Regions from separate parts of the Homo sapiens genome. Here all the other regions are linked to region 2. The links are contacts of gene promoters, found by promoter capture Hi-C in blood cells and fetal thymus (Javierre and others, 2016). All regions are on one chromosome and are shown on one strand. Each heading gives the region's core, a stretch centred on a gene start or on the middle of the fragment in contact. The rest is flanking DNA. Distances are from core to core; before and after follow the strand shown.

What was found. The method cuts DNA at HindIII sites, captures the fragments that hold promoters and counts their contacts. A CHiCAGO score of 5 or more calls a contact.
Region 1: a fragment that was not itself captured here is called in contact with the fragment with the promoter of MED30 in region 2 in 1 of 17 cell types (monocytes); the score reaches 10.5 in monocytes.
Region 3: a contact is called between a fragment that was not itself captured here and the fragment with the promoter of MED30 in region 2, in 7 of 17 cell types (non-activated CD4 T cells, total CD4 T cells, naive CD4 T cells and 4 more). The highest score is 8.9, in non-activated CD4 T cells.
Region 4: a fragment that was not itself captured here is called in contact with the fragment with the promoter of MED30 in region 2 in 1 of 17 cell types (monocytes); the score reaches 8.3 in monocytes.

The regions. Positions count from the first base shown.
Region 1 is chr8:118,062,218-118,068,738 of GRCh38, reverse strand. All of the region lies in intron 1 of EXT1 (exostosin glycosyltransferase 1), which reads left to right. Among named protein-coding and RNA genes, the nearest start is that of EXT1, 46 kb to the left of the region's middle. The HindIII fragment of the contact is 484 bases long and covers 3,009-3,492 here.
Region 2 is chr8:117,518,863-117,524,629 of GRCh38, reverse strand. MED30 (mediator complex subunit 30) reads right to left here and starts at 3,917. Exons shown (of 4, transcript NM_080651.4): 1 at 3,577-3,917. The coding sequence starts at 3,753. It overlaps LOC105375716 (a long non-coding RNA gene), which reads left to right and starts at 3,910. Exons shown (of 7, transcript XR_928569.3): 1 at 3,910-4,076; 2 at 5,453-5,591. It also overlaps the pseudogene RPS10P16. The HindIII fragment of the contact is 1,953 bases long and covers 2,323-4,275 here.
Region 3 is chr8:118,077,701-118,083,976 of GRCh38, reverse strand. All of the region lies in intron 1 of EXT1 (exostosin glycosyltransferase 1), which reads left to right. Among named protein-coding and RNA genes, the nearest start is that of EXT1, 31 kb to the left of the region's middle. The HindIII fragment of the contact is 6,417 bases long and covers 1-4,600 here.
Region 4 is chr8:118,140,987-118,147,304 of GRCh38, reverse strand. It overlaps a transcript of SAMD12 not described here. Among named protein-coding and RNA genes, the nearest start is that of EXT1, 32 kb to the right of the region's middle. RefSeq lists a silencer at 4,401-4,695. The HindIII fragment of the contact is 3,293 bases long and covers 2,475-5,767 here.

The sequences.
Region 1 (6,521 bases), core at 2,001-4,500, 540 kb before region 2:
TACTTGGAATGTGTTTTTTGTAATATATTCTGCCGCCTAAAAATAGGAAATATATATCCAGGTTTAGGTGTTAGGCAAGTTTTTCACTTCTGGTTTCTATTTATCTTGAATGTATTGCATTAGCCACACTATTTAACATGGGGATTAAAAAAAACTGCTGTGCATGTTCTCACTTACAAGTGGGAGCTGAACAATGAGAACACATGGACACAGGGAGGGGAACAACACACACACACTGGGGCCTGTCGGGGGAGAGCGGGGTGGGGAGAACATTAGGGAAAAGAGCTAATGCATGCTGGGCTTAATACCTAGGTGATGGGTTGATAGGTGCAGCAAACCACCATGGCACATGTTTACCTATGTAACAAACCTGTGCATCCCGCACAAGTACCTTGGAACCTAAAACAAACAAAAACTGGTGTGATCTCCCTGTAAGACAGGATTTTAAAAGCATGTCTACATTTTTGAGTTTTCTTTCAAGGTGCCAAGAAGAGGCTGACCACATTGTTTGAAGAATGGTTAAGAACTTGAACTTCGGAGTTTGCCAGACTTGCATTCCAGGCTCAGCTCTGGCACTGTAAGCTCTGTGGCCACACAGCTTTGCCGAACCAACCTGCTTAGCAGTAAAAATGAGAATAATAACATTTCCATTGAAAGGTGTTATGAAGATTAAATGAAAGTGTTTTTCTAAAGCTCTAGATATATAGTGGGGGCCCTTCTCAGGTAATCAGAAAGTTGTAGTTGCAGTTTTGTTACTAATATTGCAAATGCTCTGAAAATGTGCCACCATGGCTATGTCTTGTAGATGGTGACTTAAGCTTACCTTCCACAGTGGGAAAATAAATGATTTATTTCCCTTTAATAGCCATCACTCTGTTGATCCAGCCCTGCAAAGCTTACAGCATGGGGCTTATGAATCATGAATCAACACAAATGTCACCAAGCTAAAAGAGAGTTAGCAGAAGTAGCCTATGTTAAGATTAGGTTTCTGATTTAATGTGCAGTTTCTAAAAACCAAGTAGCATGTAACTGGTCTTATCCTTGCTGAGTTAAGATTGCTGGATCGTTAATTTAATAATTGAGAGAGGATAATTCTTGCAACTTCCAATTAGTATTGACTTGACCACTGCTTTGATGTAGGATGAAACCGCTTCACGTTGGTGTGATTTCCTCAGCTATGGTGTGTATAGTCTAGTTTAAAGCTAGGCTCTGTTATGTACTATGTCCATCCTGGAAAGTTCATTAGACAAGGAACAGAATAGTGGCTCTCTCAAGCAGTCAGTCATCCAGTGAATGCTATAGCACCTGCTTCCATCCAGCCCATGTATTCCTTCCCCTCATTCTTCTTTGTTACTTCACACCACATTCTTCCTTCAGCTAGTCCAAGCTATGCCTGCATAAGTAAGAACCGCAGTATAATGAACACTTGCTATGAGCCAGACACAGTGTTGGAGGTGGTATAGGTACTCCAGGAGGAAGACGTCTCCAGCCAGTTAGCTCAGGTGTGTTTGTATGGCACCAGTGCCCCAAGATGACAATATTCAAAAATGCCAGACTTCTTGAAGTTTAGACTTGAGAGTCTCCCAGTGTCATTTCTACTACATTCTTTTGGTTAAAGCAAGTTACCTGGCTAAACCTAGAGTCAGTGAGAGAGGGGATTGTTCAACAGTGTGCATTTAGGGAGAGAATTGTGGCTATGTTACAAACAATCTACCAGAGACTTACAGACGGCAGCTGTCTATTCCCCATTTGACTTCATCATTTATGAGCAGACGTTTGTTAAGCACATATTGGGTAGCAAAACATCTATAATATTAGCTTTTAATTTTTTAAAAAACTTTTATTTCCAGAAAGCTTAGCTTTATCTACAAGTACAGTTGGTCCTTGAACAATGTAGATTAGGGGGTGCTGACCCTCTGTGAAGCTGAAAAACCATGTATAATTTTTGACTCCCTGAAAACGTAACAATGAATAGCCTGTTGTTCACTGGAAGCATTGCTGATGACATAAATGGTCAACTAACACATATTTGTTTGTTCTATATATTATATGCTGTATTCTTACAATAAAGCAAGCTGGGCCTGGCGCTGTGGTTCACATGTGTAATCCCAGCAATTTACGAGGCTGAGGCGGGCAGATCACTTGAGGCCAGTTGTTCAAGACCAGCCTGGTCAACATGGTGAAACCCCATCTCTACTAAGAATACAAAAACTATTTTGGGTGTGGGTGGTGCGCACCTGTAATTCCAGTTACTCAGGAGGCTGAGGCAGGAGAATCGCTTGAACCGGGAGGCGGAGGCTACTTGAGCCGAGATCATGCCACTGCACTCCAGCTCTGGGCAACAGAGTGAGACTCTGTCTAATAAATAAATAAATAAATAAATAAATAAATAAATAAATAAATAAAGCTAGAGAAAAGAAAATGTTATTAAGAAAATAATAAGGAAGAGAAAATATATTTACTATTCATTAAGTGCAAGTGGATCATCATGAAGGGCTTCTTCCTCATTGTCTTCATGTTGAGTAGGGCTGAGGAGGAGGAAGATGAGGGGTTAGTCTTGCTGTCTTGCGGGTGACAGATGTGGAAGTAAATCCTCATGTAGGTGGGAATGAGCAGTTCAAACCTATGTTGTTCAAGGGCCAACTATAGTTGATTAACTCATATCTCTACAGTTAATTTTCAAACAGATGTGATAGCTGAATGAGAACTTTTAAGATAGTACTGGACAGTAACCTTATTGGAACTGGAATGGCCTTTAGACTTTTTGTGTCCAGTTTCTTCTCACCTCCTCTTTCTCTTCAAATGTGCAACTGAAACTGAGAGACCTCAGTCCCATGTCCAAGGTCAGGCAGATACTTAGCGGCAGAGTGAGGACTCCAGCCCATTTCTGCAGCTCTGCTGTGCAGTGGAAGATTTGGGACAAGTACATTATTTAAAAATGCCCACCCACTAAATATTACATTCCTAACTTTTCCCAATACACAAATATGCTTGAACTTTTAAAAGCTTGTTTTTGGTCGTGCTTGGTTTGGAATGTGAATGACTAAAACTACCTTTAGCAATTTCCCAAAGTGTAAGTTCAAATGTACAGAGAATTTTTTTCCTGAATGCCCAACACAATATGCAGTTTTACAACACATACCAGATTCTTAGATTCATTTGGTGAAGGAAGCCTCTGAATTAAAACTTTTAAATATTTCTGATTTGCAACCAGACGAAAAAGAAGAAAATTGACAACTTTTTTGATGCAACTTTGTGAAATCATGGTGTTCCTGGTTTTTCTGGTCTGGTTTTTGTTGTTGTTTTGTTTTGTTTTGCCACAGTTTAGTTCCTCACCTGATCTTTCCTTGTATCCACTTCAGAGTCTCTGAAATGTTATCTGTTTGTTGGTTCCTGGGAAATTGAGAGCCTTTTCAAAGACTCCATCTAGAAGCATATTTAAAAGTGTGAAAGAAGACATTTATGCGACCAACAAACATATGAAAAAAAGCTTATCATCATGGGTCATTAGAGAAATGCACAGCAGAACCACAATGAGATACCATCTCATACCAGTTAGAATGGTGATCACTAAAAAGTCAGGAAAGGCCAGGGGCGGTGACTCATGCCTGTAATCCCAGCACTTTGGGAGGCTGAGGCGGGTGGATCACCTGAGGTCAGGAGTACAAGACTAGCCTGGCCAACATAGTGAAACCCCATCTCTACTAAAAATACAAAAATTAGCTGGGTGTGGTGGCGGGCACCTGTAATCCTGGCTACTCAGGAGGCTGAGGCAGGAGAATCGCTTGAATCTGGGAGGCAGAGGTTGCAGTGAGCCGAGATTGTCCCACTGCAACTCCAGCCTGGGTGACAGACTCCATCTCAGAAAAAAAAAAAAAAAAAAAAATTCAGGAAACAACAGATGCTGAAGAAGATGTAGAGAAATACGAACACTTTTACACTGTTGGTGGGAGTGTAAATTAGTTCAACCATTGTGGAAGACAGTGTGGCGATTCTTCAAGGATCTAGAATCAAAAATACCATTTGACTCAGCAATCCCATTACTGGGTATAATCCCAAAGGATTATAAATTATTCCGCTATAAAGACACATGCACACTTATGTTTATTGCAGCACTATTCACAATAGCAAAGACTTGGAACCAACCCAGATGCCCATCAATGATAGACTGGATAAAGAAAATGTGGCACATATATACCATGGAATACTATGTAGCTATAAAAAAGGGTGAGTTCATGTACTTTGCAGGGACATGGATAAAGCTGGAAAGCATCATTCTCATCAAACTAACACAGGAACAGAAAACCAAACACTGCATGTTCTCACTCATAAGTGGGAGCTGAATAGTGAGAACACATGGACACAGGGAGGGGCACATCATACACCGGGGCCTGTCAAGGGGTGGGAGCTAGGGGAGGGATGGCATTAGGAGAAATACCTAATGTAGATGATGGGTTGATGAGCACAGCAAACCACCATGGCATGTGTATACCTATGTAACAAACCTGCACATTCTGCACATGTATCCTAGAACTTAAAGTATTAAAAAAAAGAAAAAGAAAAAAAGTGTGTAGCGACTTGACGCGGTGGCTCACGCCTGTAATCCCAGTACTTTCAGAGGCCGAGGCGGATGGATCACCTAAGGTCAGGAGTTTGAGACCAGCCTGGCCAACAGTGAAACCCCATCTCTACTAAAATACAAAAATTAGCTGGGCATGGTGGCACATGTCTATAATACCACCTACTCGGGCGGCTGAGGCAGGAGAATCGCTTGAACCAGGGAAGTTGAATTTGCAGTGAGCTGAGATTGTACCACTGCATTCCAGCCTGGGCCACAGAGCGAGACTCCGTCTCAATAAATAAATAAATAAATAAATAAGTAAATAAATAAAGTGTAGCTCTGGTCTTACTAAGTGTATGATGTTTGTCTCCATGAAATAATAATAATGTAAGATCTGAGAAGTTAATACTTAAAGTAAAACCTACAGCAAAACAGTCTGCTGAATTTGTCTGTGATCTCACAGGAGAGTCTAGTTGTAAACCGAAGCAAGGATGGTAGCTAATATCGCAGCAGTGTTTGTAAGAGGATTTTTAGTTTGTCATGCTTAAACAGACCCCTCAGTATTCTCACAGAGAACTGAAGCAATTCATTTTCAAGACTAACAAGAGCACAGCATCTGCATGCATGTGGCAGGTATGTTAGTGAATGTTGTGAAGTAGGTGGTCCCATCAGTTGTCATGGTTCACCTCTGTCCAGACTGTGATTGTGTGACTCGCAGTTGGCACTTCAGCAAAGCTTAGGAAAATGCCTCATCTTCTTTTGTGGGAGGTGGAAAAATAAGTAGCTGCTTTCAATGAACACTGCAAGCCTTGTTAAAGTCTGTACCTTTCATACAGAAACTCCTAGATGAATGGCAATGGAAAATACGGGTTTGTGATAACTTTGAATGATGTGTGATTGCCTTGATTAGCACTATAGTTACTAAGCAGATATGCACTTCTTTGTTTTAAAAGAGAACTTGAATTTTTTTTTTACTATAACTGCCAGTTGCTTAATTTCTACCACTTTGTCTATTTTTTTAAAAAATGAATTTCCACCTAATTTGTGCTTGTCAGTGATGACAAGTTTTAAAAGTAACTCAAGTTAAAAAAAAAAATTCTCCAGAAACCATCATCTGTCAAAAAGTTTGTATTTAATGTTTTCTTTCAGGTAGAAATGAGACATTTTCTCCTTCTTCTTTCCAGATTTGCACCCTTAATGTTCCAGAAAGCTGAGCATCCATATTATTTTGAGTTTAGGAATTTATAGTGACCTAGTCATAGTTATGAGGTGTTTGAGGGAAATGAAGGGAAGGATGAGTAGCAAAGACACATTAAACAGAATAAATTATATAGTCTTGTTTTTGGCAACTAGTCTAGCATGCAGTTTCCTTGCTTTGTTCAGTCCACATATAGAACAACTCTGTCTAAAACAGTGATCCAGTTAGGCCAGTTTCCTGTTTAAAAGCTTTCTGGACCGTCCCTTTTCCTGCTGGCAAAACCCCAGGCTTTGAGACATAGTTCTTTCTAAACTGACCCTAATTATTCTTCCCAGGTCATCTTTACTGCCACTACTGTTCCTTGTGAATATTTCGCATCTCTGGGCTGTTAACATATGATTCCTTCCACTTTGAATGGCTTGTGAAAAAGACGGGGGTCTTTTCACAAGCTGGTGATACTCTTTTCAGTCATGTATTTAGACCAAATCCTCTCACTTTGTGGAGTCTTGGAATAGTGTCCACGTAAGGCTGGCCTGGTTAGTTTCTCCTCTGCTTCCTGAGTCCTTGAGTGGTCTTTGTATATAGCGTGAAGTGCACAGCATTGGGAAGTCTGTGTCTGCAAGCCCATCACCTTCACTAGGATACAACATTTTCATCTTTGGACCTCTAGGCTAACCGGAGATTGAAACTTACTTGGCCTCTACCTAAACATTTCTTGAGCAACTCAGTGAGCTGTCCATGTAGTTTAGCAGACGTTCCGAT
Region 2 (5,767 bases), core at 2,668-5,167:
TACTATGTATTTTAAAAATTAAAGATTCAAAGAATAATAAACAGAACAAAAGCAATGGTATCTTCCACAAGGACTCTTAATCTGAGATTTAAGGATACTTGGGGAGTATCCCTAAATCTTCCTTTAACCCCTGAAATTTTCAAAATGTATGTGTATTTTTCTCAGAAGAGAGCTCACAGTTTTCATCAGACTCTCAAGTGGCTAACGGACATCTAGTGTATACCAGGAACCACTTCTTTAAAACAAATGCTTAGAAAAATTCTTAGCAGTTTGTATTCACAGCACTTTACTCTCGTAGATCAATAATACAGACGATTACTTTAAAATGTGAATACTAAAAATGTATTAACAAATCACTAGGTTATATATAGTTAAGAATATCCTATTTCTATCACCTCTTCTAGTTTTTTTGGAAATGAAGGAGCCCATTGTTATCTTTTCAGCCAATTATGATAGGCCCCAAAGGGTCCTGGATGAGTGATCACAGATTTCACAAAATGAAAAGCACACATATAATTATCATAGTCCCTCAAAAGCTGGCTTTGGGTCCCAGACCCTACAGTGGCCGAAATGTTGAAGCTTAAGAAGAAACGTATTGCCATTTATGAACTCCTTTTTCTTGAGACAGAGTCTCGCTCTGTCGCCCAGCCTGGAGTGCAGTGGCGCGATCTCTCGGCTCACTGCCACCTCCGCCTCCCGGGTTCAAGCGATTCTCCTGCCCCAGCCTCCCGAGTAGCTGGGATTACAGGCGCCCGCCACCACGCCCGGCTAATTTTTGTATTTTTAGTAGAGATGGGGTTTCACCATGTTGGCTAGGCTGGTCTCGAATTCCTGACCTCGTGATCCGCCCACCTCGGCCTCTCAAAGTGCTGGGATTACAGGCGTGAGCCACCGCGCCTAGCCTATGAACTCCTTTTTAAGGAGGGAATCATGGTGGCCAAGGAGGATTCCACATGCCTAAGCACCCGGAGCTGGCAGACAAGAATGTGTCCAACCTTCATGTCATGAAGGCCATGCAGTTTCTCAAGTCCTGAGGCTACGTGAAGGAACAGTTTGCCTGGAGACATTTCTACTGGTACCTTACCAATGAGGGTATCCAGTATCTCTGTGATTACCTTCATCTGCCCCCGGAGATTGTTCCTGCCACCCTACGCCGCAGCCGTCCAGAGACTGGCAGGCCTCAGCCTAAAGGTCTGGAGGGTGAGCGACCTGCAAGACTCACAAGAGGGGAAGCCGACAGAGATACCTACAGACGGAGTGCTGTGCCCCCTGGTGCCGACAAGAAAGCCGAGACTGGGGCTGGGTCAACAACCGAATTCCAGTTTAGAGGCGGATTTGGTCGTGGACATGGTCAGCCACCTCAGTAAAATTGGAGAGGATTATTTTGCATTGAATAAACTTACAGACAAAAAAAAAAAACTTAAAAAAAAAAAAGTTGGCTTTGAATGCAGGTCCACATGTAATCTAGTTATTGATAAAATACTTTTTTTGAAAAAGTTTAGTTCTGCGTAGAACATGAACCTGTATTATATCTTTTAATAATGTACATTGACAGCAAGTTAGTATTAAAAAGAGGTTAGTAGGAAGAGCTATTAGTCGTGTGTGATGTTGGGTAATTTATTTTTTCTCTCATTAAGCCTCAGTTTCCTTTACTGTAAAATAGGGATAAAAATACTCCTTAAAACTGCTCCTATAACAGGGTACCTGACCAAGGAAAGTACTTCGTAAGTGTTAGGTATTATTCGGTGCTTTGCATATAACAGGACAAAATTTTTTTTAAAGTATGCTAAATTCTGAGACATTATTTAATCCGTACTTTATTCATTCTAGATATGAATCTATTCATTTTTTTAAATTATTGCCAAAGAATGTCATAATTTCTCCTGGATCTCCTTTGTACTATATTTCACATGGTCTTAAAAATTTCCACGAAACTGAATTACTCTTATAATCAGGACGAAAAAAAAAGTCTTGACCAGTTAAAAAAAAAAAAAGCAATAAAACACTTTTTTGGACACCCACAGAAATAAGAGCTGTAAGATTTTTGAAAACTTGGTTTCAAATTTACCCTACCACTGACTAGGTTTGGGCAAGTCACTTTATCTCTCTGAAGTACAGAATCTTCATCTGTAAAACAAAAATAATATCTACTACATGTAGTGGGTAATATAAGCAAGCATTAAAAATGGGTCAGCAAAATGGTGCTGGAACAACTGGATATCCAAATGCAAAACAATGAACTTGGATCCGTATCTGCCACTATGTATACATATTTAAAAACTCACAAAACTAAATATAGGTTGTAGACCTAAATATAAAGCTTGAAAGTACAAAACTTCTAGAAGAAAACAGAAACCCTTTGTCACCTTGGGTTAGGCAAAGATTTCTTAGGTATGACAGCAAAACCAAAATCTATAAAAGAACAAATCAGTAAGCTGGATTCCATCAAAATTTAAAATGTCTGTTCTTCAAAAGACAGTATTAAGAGAATAAAAAGGCAGGATAGACTGGGAGAAGTATTTGGAAAGCATCAAGACATAACAGGTGTTGATGAGGATGAGGAGAAACTAGAACCCTCAAACAGCAATGTTTACATTCCCACTAGCAATAATCGGGACGTAAAATGGCTCAGGCCACTTTGGAAAAGTTTCTTAAAGTATTAAACAGACATGTACTGCATGATCCAGCAATTCCACTCCTGAATCTGTCCAAGAGAAATGACACATACGTTCACACAAAAATTTGTCAGCAAAAGTTCATAGCAGCATTATTTACAACAGCCAAAAAGTGGAAACAACCCAAATGTCCATCAACAGAAGAAAAGGTAGGCAAATGGTGATACATGGATACAATGGAACATTACTCAGCAATAAAAAGGAAATTATTGATGCATTCTTAGTGAAGGATCTCAGACAAAAAAAAAAGCCCACATACTGTAGACTCCGTTTATATAAAACCCTAGCAAATGCAAATTAATTTATGATTACAGAACGCAGATCAATGGTTGCTTAGCGATGGAAGGTGGGAAGCAAAGATGTCAGAGGGGTATGAAGAAACTTTCTGGGATGATGTGTACACTATTTTGATTGTGGTGATAATTTCACAAGTATACAGACTACAGTACACATATATATCAAAACTTTAGGTGAGTGTAGTTTACTGTATATTAACTATGCCAAAAAAAGGAGGACTGTTTTTTTAAAAAAAATGTAAATTCTTCAACTCCTTGGACCTCCCCAGAAGAAATGCTGGAAAAAACATTTAAAGCAACCTAAAGAGGGAAGTGGAGTGCGACCCATCTCTGCCTTGAAAGGTGCAAGAGTTTACAGAGTAACTAAAGAGCTCGATTGAATCTAAAAAAAATTGGCTTCAATTCTGCAGAAATCTGGTCTGGAAAACATCACCTCTACAAATCCGACTTTTGGGGACACTCTTGAGTGTGAATGGGGGAGACCCTACACCTAAGGTTTGCCCAGGGCAGCCCCGATGACATCCACGGGCCCCACGTAAAGAGGAAACCAGAGGCCCTTTCCCTCCCAGCTGCATCCCCCTGGCCTCGCGCGCCCGCCTTCCTACCTGCATGTTCCTCAGGAGCTGGAAGATCTCCATGGTGCGGTACACGATGTCCTGCACTGTCTCCTGCCCGATGCGGCACAGCGACGCCGTGTTGACTTCCCGGGCGGCCTGCTGAGCCTGGGGCCCGGCGAAGGGCCCGGGCGCCATCCCCGACGCGGCCAACGGAGGGGTGGACATGGCGCGGCTGCAGCTTCAGGCCGGAAGGGGCCAGACAGCAGGTGTCAGGGGTCTGCCCGGAATTGGGAGGCTGTGGGGCCTCAGCGTTGGAACCAGCTTGAGAGACCCCCCGCGGCCCGATTTCAAAACAGCGGCCGCGACTTCCGCCCACTGTGACGTAACACGTCAGAAAACGTCATAGACACCGCCCACTCGGCGAACTGTCTCCGAGCGGAGCCGGGCTGGATTGGATTGGACCCCTGGGCGGGAAAGGACGGACGGGTTAAGTAGCCAATCACCAATTGCGCTCCAGCCAGAGGGGCGATGTTCTTGGGGAGCCTGGGGTGAGTTCCCAGAGTTCGTTTCCCAGTCTTGGCTCAGCGTTAGAACCTTCTGTGTTTAGTTCCTTGCGGAGCATTTTCTCTTAACAAGCCTGAGGTTTGTAGTATAACAGCTAAGAGACAGGTTAAAGTACTTGTTGAGTCGCATACAGGTGTAACTGGCAACCTGCGATTCGAATTCAGAAAACAAGATTCCTAAGCTTGTACGCTTCTCTGTGACATGATACGGACTCCCCGATTGCTCTTGGTCCCTGCTCAGATGTTTTATTCTTTGAGTTTTCCCAGTATCTGTAAGCAAAAAAAATGATCAACACACACACTTCTTTCTGACTCTGGCTCTTATTAGTGTCTGATTTTTTTTTCTTTTTCTTTTTGAGATGGAGTCTCGCTCTGTCACCCAGGCTGGAGTGCAGTGGCGCGACCTCGGCTCACTGCAAGCTCCGCCTCCCGGGTTCACACCATTCTCCAGCCTCGGCCTCCCGAGTAGCTGGGACTACAGGCGCCCGCCACCACGCCCGACAAATTTTTTGTATTTTTAGTAGAGACGGGGTTTCACCGTGTTAGCCGGGATGGTCTCGATCTCCTGACCTCGTGATCCGCCCGCCTCGGCCTCCCAAAGTGCTGGGATTACAGGCATAAGCCACCGCGCCCGGCCTACTGTCTGATATTTTATATAGCTTTCAGTTTGTTTACTTTCAGACTTTATCTCACCCTATCTACACACACTGCCAACTCCATGAAAACAGACTATTTTATTCACTTATTCTCAACACCTAGTGATTGGCACAAGTATCAATAAATACTTATTGAATGATTGTTGAGTGACATGATAAATGCAAGAGAAATTAAAATGTCTCTCACAATGTCTCTCACTTACTGTTCATCTCCAAAGTGGGGAAAAGTGAAGAATGTAAAATTAGTGATAGGCACAAACATTGCATTTTTTAGAAGTATCTGAATGCTCCATTGTACGGACTTTCCAGGAAATAGTTACTAAATATGTCATAGGAACCCTGGTAGAGATTTTAAACATAGTAATTCGCAGGTCTTCGGTAATTACCATTCGACAAATATTGGCTGAGCACCTATTATGTGCTGGGTGCTAGGAGTGAAGATAGCGTACTGAACAAACCAGGCAAAAGCCCTGCAGCATGTTTGTCATGGGGACAAACAGAACACTATTGTGATGAGCGTCTTGAAGCAAAAGTTCCTGATATCAGGGTGCTAACAATTTAGGAGATTGAGAACGACCTGAAGGGAGCAGTGTGGAACCTGAAGGTGGATAGGGAAGGGAGTAACGAATGATAGAGTCTTTTCTATGAGGACGAGGAAGGCCAGTGCCAACACCTGAAGTGAAGAGGCCTCCTAATGCTTTCTAGGATCTGGAAGAAGTTCAGTGTGAGGACGAGTGTTAGGAAATAAGGCTGAAGACAGAGGCAACCCTGGAGGATCTTCTAACCCATGTCAAGCAGTTGAGAATTTATGGAGTGAAATAGCAAGCCATTGAAGAGTTTCAAGGTGAGAGGAATAATTTGAAATATTCATTTTAGAACACTTATTCTGGTTGCTAAATGGGGAACAGATGGTGGGTTTCTATTGTCTTCTCTCCCAAAGGGGAATGATGATGATGATCATGACCTGTGCAGAGAAAGGAGACAGAGGGTAACTTTGAATAAATATTTAGTAAGTAGAAT
Region 3 (6,276 bases), core at 143-2,642, 560 kb before region 2:
GCTCACTACAGCCTCTGCCTCCCGGGTTCAAGCAATTCTCCTGCCTCAGCCTTCGGAGTAGCTGGGATTACAGGTGTCCACCACCACACCTGGCTAATTTTTTATATTTTTGGTAGAGATGGGGTTTCACCATGTTGGCCAGGCTGGTCTCGAACTCCTGACCCCAAGTGATCTGCTCGTCTTGGCCTCCCAAAATGCTGGGATTACAGGCATGAGCTACTGCGCCCCGCCTCCCTCTTTTCTTATTGAGACCCATTGACCAATAGCTTGGTCAATAGTGCTTGATTCTTGAGTTTAGAAAACTTCTATTGAGCTTCTTACTATGTCCTGGGGACTGTGCTGGGCAGTAAGAACACCAGAAAGGGTGTGGCGTCTTAGGAGCCTATTAAACTAGATTAGGAAGAGAGGTGTTGAGGTGTCACCTAGGGCATAGGCAGAGAACCTGTCTGCCTAATGATACTGGGTTTAGTTCTTGAATTCTTTATATTCAGAATATGGATTAGGGCCAGGCTGGCCTTGACAACCTGAATCATTAAACACTTATGGTGACTGGTGGGTGATTAGCCACATAAGAAGAAGATATATTCATAACAGATATAATAGGAGCAATGGGGACTCGATGGAGAGTATTAAATAGTACAGTGTCTTCCATAAATGTTCTTTAATTGTGGAGATTACTGTTCTGTAGATTATTCACTCAGGCATTGAGTATGCGTTTATTAAGTGCTTTTTGTGTCCTAGGCTCATTCACAAGTCTAAACTTCAAATTTGGTTCTTAAATTCCTCAAGACCAGAGTTTAGCTAAAAGTATCATTATATCCTGAGATGGAATTTTATCAAATTGTATGCTTAAAATGAGGAGATATGTCTGTTTCTCCATCTCGCAAGCCCCACCAGTTTAACTGTCAATTGGTCTTGTCAATCAACTATAAGAGGTGTAAAAATGTCTTGGGCTATAAGTACATACTCCAGGGCGTATCCTGGTGACAGAGATTGAGAAACTGATTGGAAGAGAGTGTAATCAGTAGTGCTGGCCTTACTGTTCTGAAATTTCTGGTTTCTTTCCCTCGCTCCAAACTTAATTCTTTCTTCTCTATTTTCAATTTCAGAAGAAATTTAGAATGAGTGAGGGAAATTAAAATGAAGTCCAGAAGACCAGCAGAGATTTCACCGGGCATGTGGGTAGGAAAGACGTGTGAGAAAACCATTTGAAATGGAATTAAAAGAAAACGTGTTCAGCTCACTATATAATTATAGTTAGCTTGGCCTGGTGTTTTGGGTTGCATTACCTGTAAGTTTGGAACTCATTTGTTGTATAGAAATTGATACCCCACATTTACTTAAATTTTGCCCATCTGTTTCTTGTTAAAAGAAACTGGACATCTGCTAAAATATCCTTGTTTTGGATTACTCAATCTTATTGTCACCTTATAATGGTTTTATTTTGGGGGAGGTTTATTCGTATTAGTATGATGGGGAAAGAACAGAAAGATCTTATTGGAAAATAAATTTAGAATTTTCCAAATAATAAAATCAAAAGATTTCCAGCCGTAATCTTAAGATGCCTTTTCATGATGTCTAGTTTTAGAAACTTTTTTTCCTCTCAGATGTGAAGAACAATGCTTTTTAGGACAATAGTGAAACTTACATGAGAATTGTTCTTTTTGCATTGTGTTATGGTGCATGATGCGAAAGTTTAGAAATAAATATATCCCTGGATACAACAGGCCTCAGTTAAGACTTCAGCTATTTTTAATGCATTTTGTTATTTTTGGCCTGGCATAGTATCTTAGGATGAGAAAATCCATCCCCTTCCCCTAGTCTGAGGTCACATGTTGCCATCAGTTCTCTGTAATGGAGTCAATGATGTTATGGTTTTAAAATAACGGGAAATTAACATTTCTTGTCCCCATGATTGTGGCCGCAGGACTTGATCGTTTTTATACTGTTAATCACACTCCTCTTTTACAAGAACTCCCCGACTCTTGTTTCCCCCAGCAGTTAAATGCCATATTTTCATATATTTACCTTATATCTGGCTAAAACCTTGCAATTTTTTGTTTTGCTCTCGGTTTTTGTGACAATTTTAAGAGGAAGGCAAATAATGTACAGACTGGGTTGAAAGAGGAGAAAATGGAGCAGTTGTAATTCCCCGGGGCAGGGTAAGAGACTGTTAATACATTAGTGGTAGGAGGGCTTCTGCAGAAAATACGACTGCACAATTAAATGGGGCTATTAAAAGCACGCCAGCATCAATTCATTAAATGACAGTGGCAATTTCTTTGTAATCCCCTTTTCCCCATCTCCTCCTGGGACTCAGTATATGCAGGGATGAAAGGCAGATGGGCAAAGATCAGAAAGACTACTGAGGAAGAGGTACAGTTATTTAGATATCTGCTTCCTCATCTTCTTTGGGGGCAGCTTCTGTGATGAAAACACTTTATGAAAGGTAAGACCCCCAAATACCTGTTCTGTAGACATTGGGGATGAAAATGTACATCCTAGCAGATGATCTGGTTCTGCATTCCAGAACACTGCTCTGACTTTAGAAGCAGTTATCTATGCATAGTATATCTACTTGGAGCTAAAACAAAGAGAGAAATTGTTTGATTGAAACCTTCTTATTGCAAAAGTATGCAGAATTGACATTCAGCAATCTTATGTAAAAATACTGCAAAATGTTTCTTTTTCTGGAAAACAGTGTATTTTAAAAATCAGTTGGAATCTGGTTACCTGCATGACCTAGTGAGAACTTCAAGGCTTGGGGAAATGGTTGAGGTTAGTGGTTATGAGTATTTGATATCCTTTTGCGTGTCATTTAATTGTCTAAGCCCCCATTTCCTCATCGGTAAAATGGTGATTCTGGTATCTGTCTTTTTAGTGCTGCTCTGTAAAATTAAATGAGATACTGAATGAAAAGCATTTTGCTCAGTGCCTGGCATAAGATAAGTGCTCCCTAAATATTAACTAGTTTTATTATCCATTGAATTTTAGGACTCCACCCTCCCCCCTAGCCCTCCAAAAGAGTTAATGGTCTTATCTGCCTGCTGAAGAGTAGGGTTATGAGGAAGCTGAGACATGGAGAGATGATGTGTTAATTAGTGAAGAAACCAGAATGGGAACCACATTTTATGACTTCCCACTGCATTGAAGTGCCTCTCATAGTATGAGACTTCTGTATTTAGTAAAGGAGGGCCAACACTTGCTCCACCTATTATAATAGATGAGGTATGCTTTTTATCTATATACTTAAAAATGTAGTTTTAAGTTCATTGCTCAGGTTCTTTCGGTGGCAAAAATCCTTGCACTTTAAAAGGCATTATTATTGGCCGAGTTTTAAAAGAACTACCTTCAGAGAAAAATGCATTTCATTTTGATTATGCCCAACGCCTGCAGAATACCATTTAAACTACAAGTGATATAAAAGGTTAAGTATTTGATTAAAACTAATCTCCTTTAAAAACTAATGTTTCAGTCTCCACCAGAACTTCTTCAGGGAACTTCAGTGTTTTGCTGATAACTGGATCCAATTTATGGGAGGTAAAAAAAAAAAGGCAGTTATTTACTTAATTCATCTATTAGTTTCCAGACTTGATATATTGAATCTAAAGAATGGTGAAATTAATAGATAAGAGAAGAAGTTTGAGTGGTTAAAAAATGGATGATATCTCCTATTTCAGGGAAACAGTATTTGATCAGATTTCAGGGTGGTACGAAGTTCTTGTTGATGATAAAAGGCAAGTCACATTTATCAGCTGAACAACTCAGAAAACACAGATGATCTGAATTTGTGGAGGCGTCCTCCATACCATTTTCTCTATTGCTTTGATGATTGTCTGAGGTCTCTACCAAACAGATACTCATATTCATATTTCCAGTTCAAATCCCTGTTGCATTGTGAACTCTTTGGGAACAGAGACCACTTTTGCCTTTTCAACCAGTGCCTAGCAGGGTGCCTGGAGGCATTAGGGAATGTTTATTGAATAAGGGAATGACTCACACTGTATGCCAAAATCTGGCTTCCCTGAGTTTATATGCCTCTGGTAACCTTTTGTAAATGACACCTTTTCTATATGATTAGCCACTTCTTTCTTTCTATTGAAGTTATTTCTTATTTCCAAGTAAATCTTGTTGCAGCCATCCTCCTCCTGACTACATCCAATGTGGTTCATGTTTTTTCTTTTCTTTTTAATTTTGGGAGGGGTGTGAAGTGCAAGATAGAACATAATGTGGGCTAAATCCGGGGCTATTCAACTTGACTAGGGTCTTTGGCCTTCCAGAATGTTGAGAAACTAATTAGTGGGTGGGGTGGGGGTGGGGGCGGTGTTAGAAGAAATGGCTGGGATTCTTTGTATCCAAAAGAATGTTTCTCCTTGGTGATGAGGCAGGTATTGTCACCCCTCTGAATAAATCCTTAGGCAAAGTACAAAAACACCAGCCGGCTGAACAATGCCTGGCCACTCTGGCCTTAGGATTGCAATACCTTACGGGTAAGTTTAGAAATGAGTTTCCTGTTCAGGTTTTAGGCCTGTCATACTGTTGAGTGGCTGTCTAACCTTTGAACTTTCTGTGTTTTTGACATCAAAAGGAACTCTAAGCTTTACCAAAAAGGTTTTATTCGAGTAATTAATACTCTTCATGCACAGAGGGAAATTAGCCTCCAACTTGTGGACATGGTGAAAAATTAGTATCTTCCCATTTGCTCGGCTTGTTTGAACTATAGTTGATTATTTTTAAAGATAAGGAGATCAAATTTCCTTAATATTTCAGTATGTTGCTTTTTGTACCCTTAAAATTATTTTTTCCTATGCAGAATTGACTTTGATTAAAAAATGTTTTTGATGACTATTTTCCTGATTCGTCAGTATATCTAATTGTGTTCATTTTACTCATGAAAAATCTTGTCTATGAGGGACGTATTTTTAGTAACATTTTTATAGCATATAAGAACTTTTACAGCAAAAACAGGAATCATTAAGTGTGTGTGCTTTTATCATAACTTCTCTTTTAATGGAACTTAAAATCTTAACTCGTGTTTTTGCAGCACTTTTTTTGCACATGGTAGGTTCTTAATATTTGAATGGAATTCAGTGTGACTGTTCTTTGTGTTCTCAAAAGTCTGATCTTTGTAACAATTTGTCTTTCACTTGAGACTTTTTTTTTCTTTGCATATGTGCACGTCTCACTCTTGGTTTTCCTTAATCTTTTTTAACTAAACACATCTATGACTCATATTTCCCTATTTATGAATAGGAGCAATTTAAAATTTCCCAACATGGTGGTATGTGATGTAACATAACCAAAGGCTACATGTTTACCCTTGTTTAATTACCCTTCATTTGTGGAAAGATGACGTATGTATTTATGATGTAAATGTCTTTCAGAATGACCTTTGGGACTAAGCTTTTTTTTTTTTTTCCCACCAAAAAATGGTCATGACCTAGGAAGCCTTGTTAGTAAAATTTAAAAAGGAAAAGTTGGCTGGGCATGGTGGCTCATGCCTGTAATCTCAACACTCTGGGAGGCTGAGGTGGGTGTATCAATTGAGGTCAGAGTTCGAGACCAGCCTGGGTAACATGGTGAAACCCCGTTTCTACTAAAAATACAAAAATTAGCTGGGCATGGTGGCCTGTGCCTGTGATCCCAGCTACTCGGGAAGCAGAGACATGAGAATTGCTTGAACCTAGGAGGTGGAGGTTGCAGTGAGTGGAGATTGTGCCACTGCACGCCAACCTGGGTGACAGAGCGAGACTTCATCTCAAAAATAAAATAAAATAAAAATAAACAGGAAAAATCTGGTCAAATGCCCCTTGTTCTTCTTCAACAGATACATAGTGAGTTGTGTAAAAAAGGAGTTGGAAAAGGAATATGTAGATTCAAAGTGACTTAAAGAATAGAAAAAAAATTTGTTTTAAAAAATGGCCAAGACTAAATCATAGTGTCTAGGGAGGTACACCTGAATAATAAAACTATAAAGAAATACAAAATATGATTACTACTAAGAATAGTCTGTTGCCAGTAGTACACAGAATGAGCACTCAAATTATAACAGAAGCATTTTGGTATTCATAAATGTTCTTTTTTTAAAAAAGAACACAATCGAAATTATAATATAGGCTGTAAGTACTGATTTTAATTGTAGTGAATGTGAAAGTGTTGTTAATGAAAATATAAAGAATATTTGTTAAAGTGTGGACCTAGCCAGGAATACTAGGTAGAAAAGGTAACTCTTTAAAAACATTTTTTTAATTGTGAAGTTAATTTATTGTCACTTTG
Region 4 (6,318 bases), core at 2,872-5,371, 620 kb before region 2:
GTCTGTAATATCAACATTTTGGGAGGCTGAGCTGGGTGGATCACATGAAGTCAGGAGTTCAAGACCAGCCTGGCCAACATGGTGAAACCCCATCTCTGCTAAAAATACAAAAATTAGCCAGGTATGGTGGTGTGTGCCTGTAATCCCAGCTACTCAGGAGGCTGAGGCATGAGAATCACTTGAACCCAGGAGGCAGAGTTTTCAGTGAGCCACGATCATGCCACTGCACTCCAGCCTGGGCAACAGAATGAGACTCTGTCTCAAAAAAAAAAAGTTCCTGCCTCTTAGGTACAACATGGCTGTTCTAAGCATTATATAAAATCAAGTGTGAACCATTTAGCATGGAAATGGCAATCACCAATTAGAGTTTAGCCATCATTACTGTCCTCAATAATCATTATAAATCTTCAAATTTATGATTATTTTCTCAGAATAGGAACATATAAGTGAAATCCCAGGGCTCATTTTAAAAATCCTTCCCTCTAAGTTAGAAGTAGCAAAAAACATTCTTGGCTCTTTTCCAGGCCCTATTGTGATACTCAAAACCCAGTGTGGCTCGTCAGTTTTTTGTTCTGTTGCCTTGGTCTGATGCTTCTGAGAGCTCCTTGGCTCTATGCTTCCCATTCTCTCCAACCAAACCTATGAGTCTTGTGATTTCTCTCCTACCGGGAGATGGACTGTGTAACCTTGAATAAAAATAGTGGACAAACGAGCAATGGGTGATAATGAATGTTATTCTTCCTCATAGGCAACATAGCTGTGTTTTCCTATGGATCACTAGTATCTAAACACAGAGAATTGGAATATGGGGTCTTCAGGATGCTCTACAAAGTCTAATGGGGAAAAATTGTTGGTATTTGTGTGTTCAAATCTACAGGCCATATTGTATGTGGTTATGCTGCCTGAATTTCTTAATGGGGTGGACAAGGCCCTCCGTTCTTTACCCCCATGTACTTCTCCAGCTTTGTCTCTTGCTATCACCTCCCTGCAATGTGATACTAAAATCATACAGCAGGTCTTGCTATGTTCTCAAATGTGCCATGCTTTCTCTCCCACAATGCTTTGTACATCATGTTCTCCTGCCTTGAACACTCTCTGCCTACCCCTGCCTCCTTCATTTGGCTAACTCCTACTTATAATCCAGGCATCCTCTTAAACCCTACATCTTCCTGGAAGTTTTCCTGTACCGAAGTCGGAGTTTGGTGCTCCATGGTTAAGCTCCCATGGCACCTTGTCATTACCCTTACTGGACCTAAATTGCCTGTTTATTGGCCTTCATCCTGATCACACTATGTGGCAGCCATGGGGTTGCATCGCTTTGATCTCCCTTCAAGAAAGAACTGGCTATTTAGCTGCAAGGAGTGCAGTTAGCTGACAGCCTCCAGCTGTTAATGCCTTCAAGCTCTGCCTCAGCTTTCAAGCTGAGGCCACGATCTTTTTGGGCAGCCCCAGACAATGACCGAGTATAACAGTGGCACCAGGGCCAACTCAGGACTCCTTTAGCAGGAAATCTTTGGGTCAGCTAAGACTTCATCAGATCTGCATTGTAGTCTGAGGCTCTCTCTTCCTCATCCTGCCTCCTCCCTCTTTCCTTTGACAGATGTCATATCTGCTTTTTGGCATAAAGGATTCCCTTGTCCAATCCCGCTTCCTCACCCTTTCACGTTCACGGCTTACTCTCCAATAAGCCTCCTGAAATCCTTACTTTGTCACCTACATCTGCTTTCTGGAGAATCTGGATAACATAGACAATGAGCCCTTTAAAAGTAGGGACTACATTCTTATTCAAATTTTACCTCCAGCTCCCAGAACAACACACAGTAGGATCTCAATAAACACCTATGAAAGGATTGAATGAATGAATGAACACTCAAGATAGTGTTCAACATTGAATGATGTTTTGATCTTATATAATTCACAGGTGCTGGTCAACATTCAAGAACATTCTGATTTGAAGACTCAGATTTATTTATAAAATGCACTTCAAGAATGACATAATTGAGCATTTTTCAAGTGAGTATTTTCCAATGGTTGGATTTATGCCAAATATATAATTTACCCCTTAGGATAATCCCATGGGCTAATGTAGTTTAGCATGAGTCATAATAGATATTTGTACTTGAAATTACACAGCAGCTATAAAACTGTTATTTACTATCAAAATAGCAAATTTTAAATATTACTGCTTATGCCTGGAAATCTCATCTAAATGTTGTTTTATAGAATAAAATCCAAAAGCATTAAAAGCCTTTCAAAATCTAGACTCTATTTATTTGGCACTTGCCACATTATTGTGTGTGTGAAATATCTAGCTAGCTAACTTCCCCACTAGATTGCAAACTCCTTGAGGCAAGCAAACCATGCACTTCTCTGAATCTTATTGCTCTCTCTTTAACCTAACCCTGGCATCTAACTAGGGCTGTGTTGCATTGGAGACTATATGGATTTTTAGTACCTCAGTTGAAATAAAAGCTTTATCACTTGCTAATTGTGGCCTTCAGCTTTCTAAAACGCATCCTCGTTTTTCTCACCTTTAACCCAATCTCAGAATTTCTAGTGAGAGTTAGAGATATTTTCTTCCCTTCTTTTCCCTTATCTTCTTTTCCCTCTCTCTCTCCCTTTTCCCACCTTCCTTGCTTTTGTTCTTTCTTCCCTCTTTCTTTCCCCTCCCCTTTTTCCTCCCTTCCTTGCACCAATTTTTAAATTAATTTTATTAATAAAAATGTTATTAATTCAATAAAATTAAAACTCATTTTCATCAATAAATTAATATGTAATAAGAAATTAATAAATTTTTATTTACCTACCAAATATCATTAAATGTCTACTATGTCCCAGGCACTGTGCTAGGTGCTTTGGGAGCAGCAGTGAGTGAAACAGACAAGGCTTATGGCCCCCATGAACTCTCTCAGTGGGGATGAGGGTTGTCAAAAATAATTACCCAAATAATGAATATGTGCAATAATAGAAGTGGGAGAGTGGCTAAAAAATAATGCCCCCAAAGAATATTCATGTCAAACATTGGAGCTTGTGATGTGATTTTATTTGGGAAAAGTCTTCGAAGATGTAATTAAAGATCTTGAGATGAAGAGACAATTGTGGCTTATCTGGGCAGGGCCTAAATGCTGTCCAGAGATCCTCGCCCGAATCCTTATAAGACACACAGAGGAGAAAACACACGGAAGGGGAGGAGGCAACATGACCACGGAGGCAGAAACTGGAGAGATGCAGCCACACCAAGGAATGCCTGGAGCTACCAGAAGCTGGAAGAGGGGAGGAAGGATTCTCTCCCAGAACTTTAGGAGGGAACACAGCCCCGCCAACACCTTTACTTTGGATTTCTGGTCTTCAGAACTGCAATAAAATATATTTCTGTTGTTTTGAGCTAGCAAGTTTGTGATAATTTGTTATAGCAGCCACAAGAAACTAACACAAGGGAGTAAATAAACAAGGATCTGGGGGTCTGGGAAATGACTGTGCGTAGACCTCAGTCCTCTCCGTGTTTTCGTGCTTTCCATATTCTATGGCATGTTAGGATATTGTCTCATTTTCTGGACTCTACATTTTTTCTTCTCTGATTGATATACTCTCACTTTGCCCGTGCCTAGAAAGTTGGAGATTAATTCCCACAGGTTTAATTTTAACCCCTCTTGCTGTGGATTCTCTGCAGTCTATGCTTCACATTCTTGGAAGAACACCACTGAGCTCTATCAGTCTGGGTATTTATAATGACAGATAGAGAACGGCTTCAAAGGCATGCTTGCAACTCCCTAACATGCTTTTACACTTTACTGTGATGTGGCGCAAAGTACACAGGTAGATGCCATGAGTTCTGCATTTCAGTTCAGCTTTTGACACTAATTGAGTGCATGATCTTTGACAAGTCACTTAGGGTATTTATGCCTCAATTTCTTCATGTGAAATTAGGGTTTATCTGGCTTCAAAAATAACCATAATTCCTTAGTGAATTTTTTTTACATTTGTGCAAAAACATTTATGTAAATTGACTTGGGGTCCTATATAACTAATTCTATAAGTAATTCTGCAGTACACATTATCTAAAAGGAGGAGAATCTATACTCTTAGATATACTGTGCCCCTCTTGGTTTTGCACAAATGATTCTCCATAAATCAGATGTACAGGTAATCAAAAGTCTTGACTGTGTCCCCAGAAATCACAACTCAGAAGTCAACCTTTAGGAATCCCTTTAAAAAAAAAGTTGTGTTTTATGATGGAATTTCCCTTGGTGAGCTTAAACAAGTAGTATAAGCTAAGTTACTCAACCAGAAGAGGTTTACCATCATACTTCCTTGATGTGTTTCGTAATAAACAGGCCCTGGCCGGTGCCTGTGGTTTATTCACTATTATTATTATTCATTATTCTAACACATCTCTGGGTCTGTGCTCTAGGCAAACCAAGTCTAAACACATCCCTTCCCTCACTCTTCTTCCTCACCGCCATTAGCTCTATGACACAGGATAGTATTAGTCACTTATATAAACTAGTAGATATTCATCTATTAGCCCACTCCTTTGCTTGGCACTGCAGAGATCAGAAATGTGTGACACATGAATGGCTTTTGACATCAAAGAACTTATCTGAGCAAAGATAGCCAAGGATTCATGTCAGCAGCATATTGTGAGGGCCAATGTAGGAGTACTTGAATTTGTTATAGAAGCAGATAGCAGGAAGCAAATACTCTGGTCTGCTAGACTGGAAGTTAGCCCGTTGATCTGAGGTTTCCAGTTCACCACCGTGTTCCCAATGCCGAAGACAGTTTCTGCAGTAAAGCAAGCATTCGATAGATATGAATTGAATGGTTAAATGTTTGGTCTGAACTTGGTAGGGATGGACAGGAGAAGGTTCCCAGAAGAAGAGAAACCTGAGTTAGGGTTTGAAGAATTGAGAGACATTAGGTGATAGAAGGCAAGAGGGAACTTCTAGAGATGCTATAAGCCAAGTTGCAGAAATAGACTTTTCGTAGAGGTAAAGGGGGAATGTGGGTGCTAGATTAATGCTGAGATTGATTCTTAAAAGGTTAATGTCATTTCGGTTTATGGCTTACACATTGTTGAATAGTGAGAGTCTGCTTCTAACATTTGTTAATTTTGGCACTGGAAACAAGAGGTTCAAGGACCTGGGAGAGATGCACAGCCTCCCTCTGAGGCCTTGGAACAACTTTTCTAATCAGGTGCCAAAGTCTCTACGTGGCTCTAAAACCTCCAGCTATGTAGTGAGAATCTCTAGTTGGGGCCACAAAATTTGCGTGGTTATTAGCTACTGAGCCTAGAAGGTATCATTTCATGTTACTATGAACTGGGTCTACAATCCTAGAACATATGCCTTTGATAACTGTCCCAGGGAGAGGCCATCTTCCAAAATTTTCTAGAAACTATCACAGGGGATGGCCAGGACTAAGGTGGGACCCTAGCCCTTCCTAGCCCTCTGTTATTCTTCTCTCTGCATTTGGTTCTGAAGATTTAAATGTCCAAATCTGGTCTTGCTTCTTTGCTTACTTCCTGGCAATTGCCATGGAGTCAGGTGGCACAGCAAAAGGTAAATTAAATAGAAAGATGCTCTGTTTAAGATCTATGTGGCTTCTATTACTCACTGAGTCAGAACTAACAATTTTACTCTTTACATCAAAACTATTCACCAGAGTTATTTGGCCTACCCCATTTCTCCCTCCTTAACCTACACCTCAATTTCTATACTGGTATGTTTTCATCATGGAAAGTCAAATATCAGACTGTTAGCAGGAAGCTTGGTGTATGGGGCATTGGCTCAAGACAGCAGACCTTGGCTTCAGATTTGATTCTGTTATTTATCAGCAATGTGGATCTCCCCTGACCAAGCTTCATTTTCCACCAGGGTAAAATGAGAGCAATCATACCTCACATATCATCCTCACAAACTTATTGATAAACTTCTAATGAGACCATGCATTTCTAACAGGCTTTGTAAATGTGAAGCACATAAACATGTAAGGAACAATTATTCTTATTTTTTGCATCTTCTCTACACATATGGCAGTCTCAAATTAGTTAGTACTTCTGTTACATTGAACAAAGGGCTACTGAACTCTGAAGACTTTCGTAAAAGCTGAGCCAGAAAAGTGTTGACAATGTCCTTTGAATTTCATATCTCTTAGAATTTGCTTCTGTAGCTGCTTATCTTTTTGCCAGTTCCTAAATATTCTTGCTCTTGTGACTAACACTCTGGAGTACTCAATAAATGTCAGTTGAATTAATATATGAATAATGCAGTGTTTATTAGTTAAGATAGTCTAAGCTATGCTGCAATGACAGATAAACCC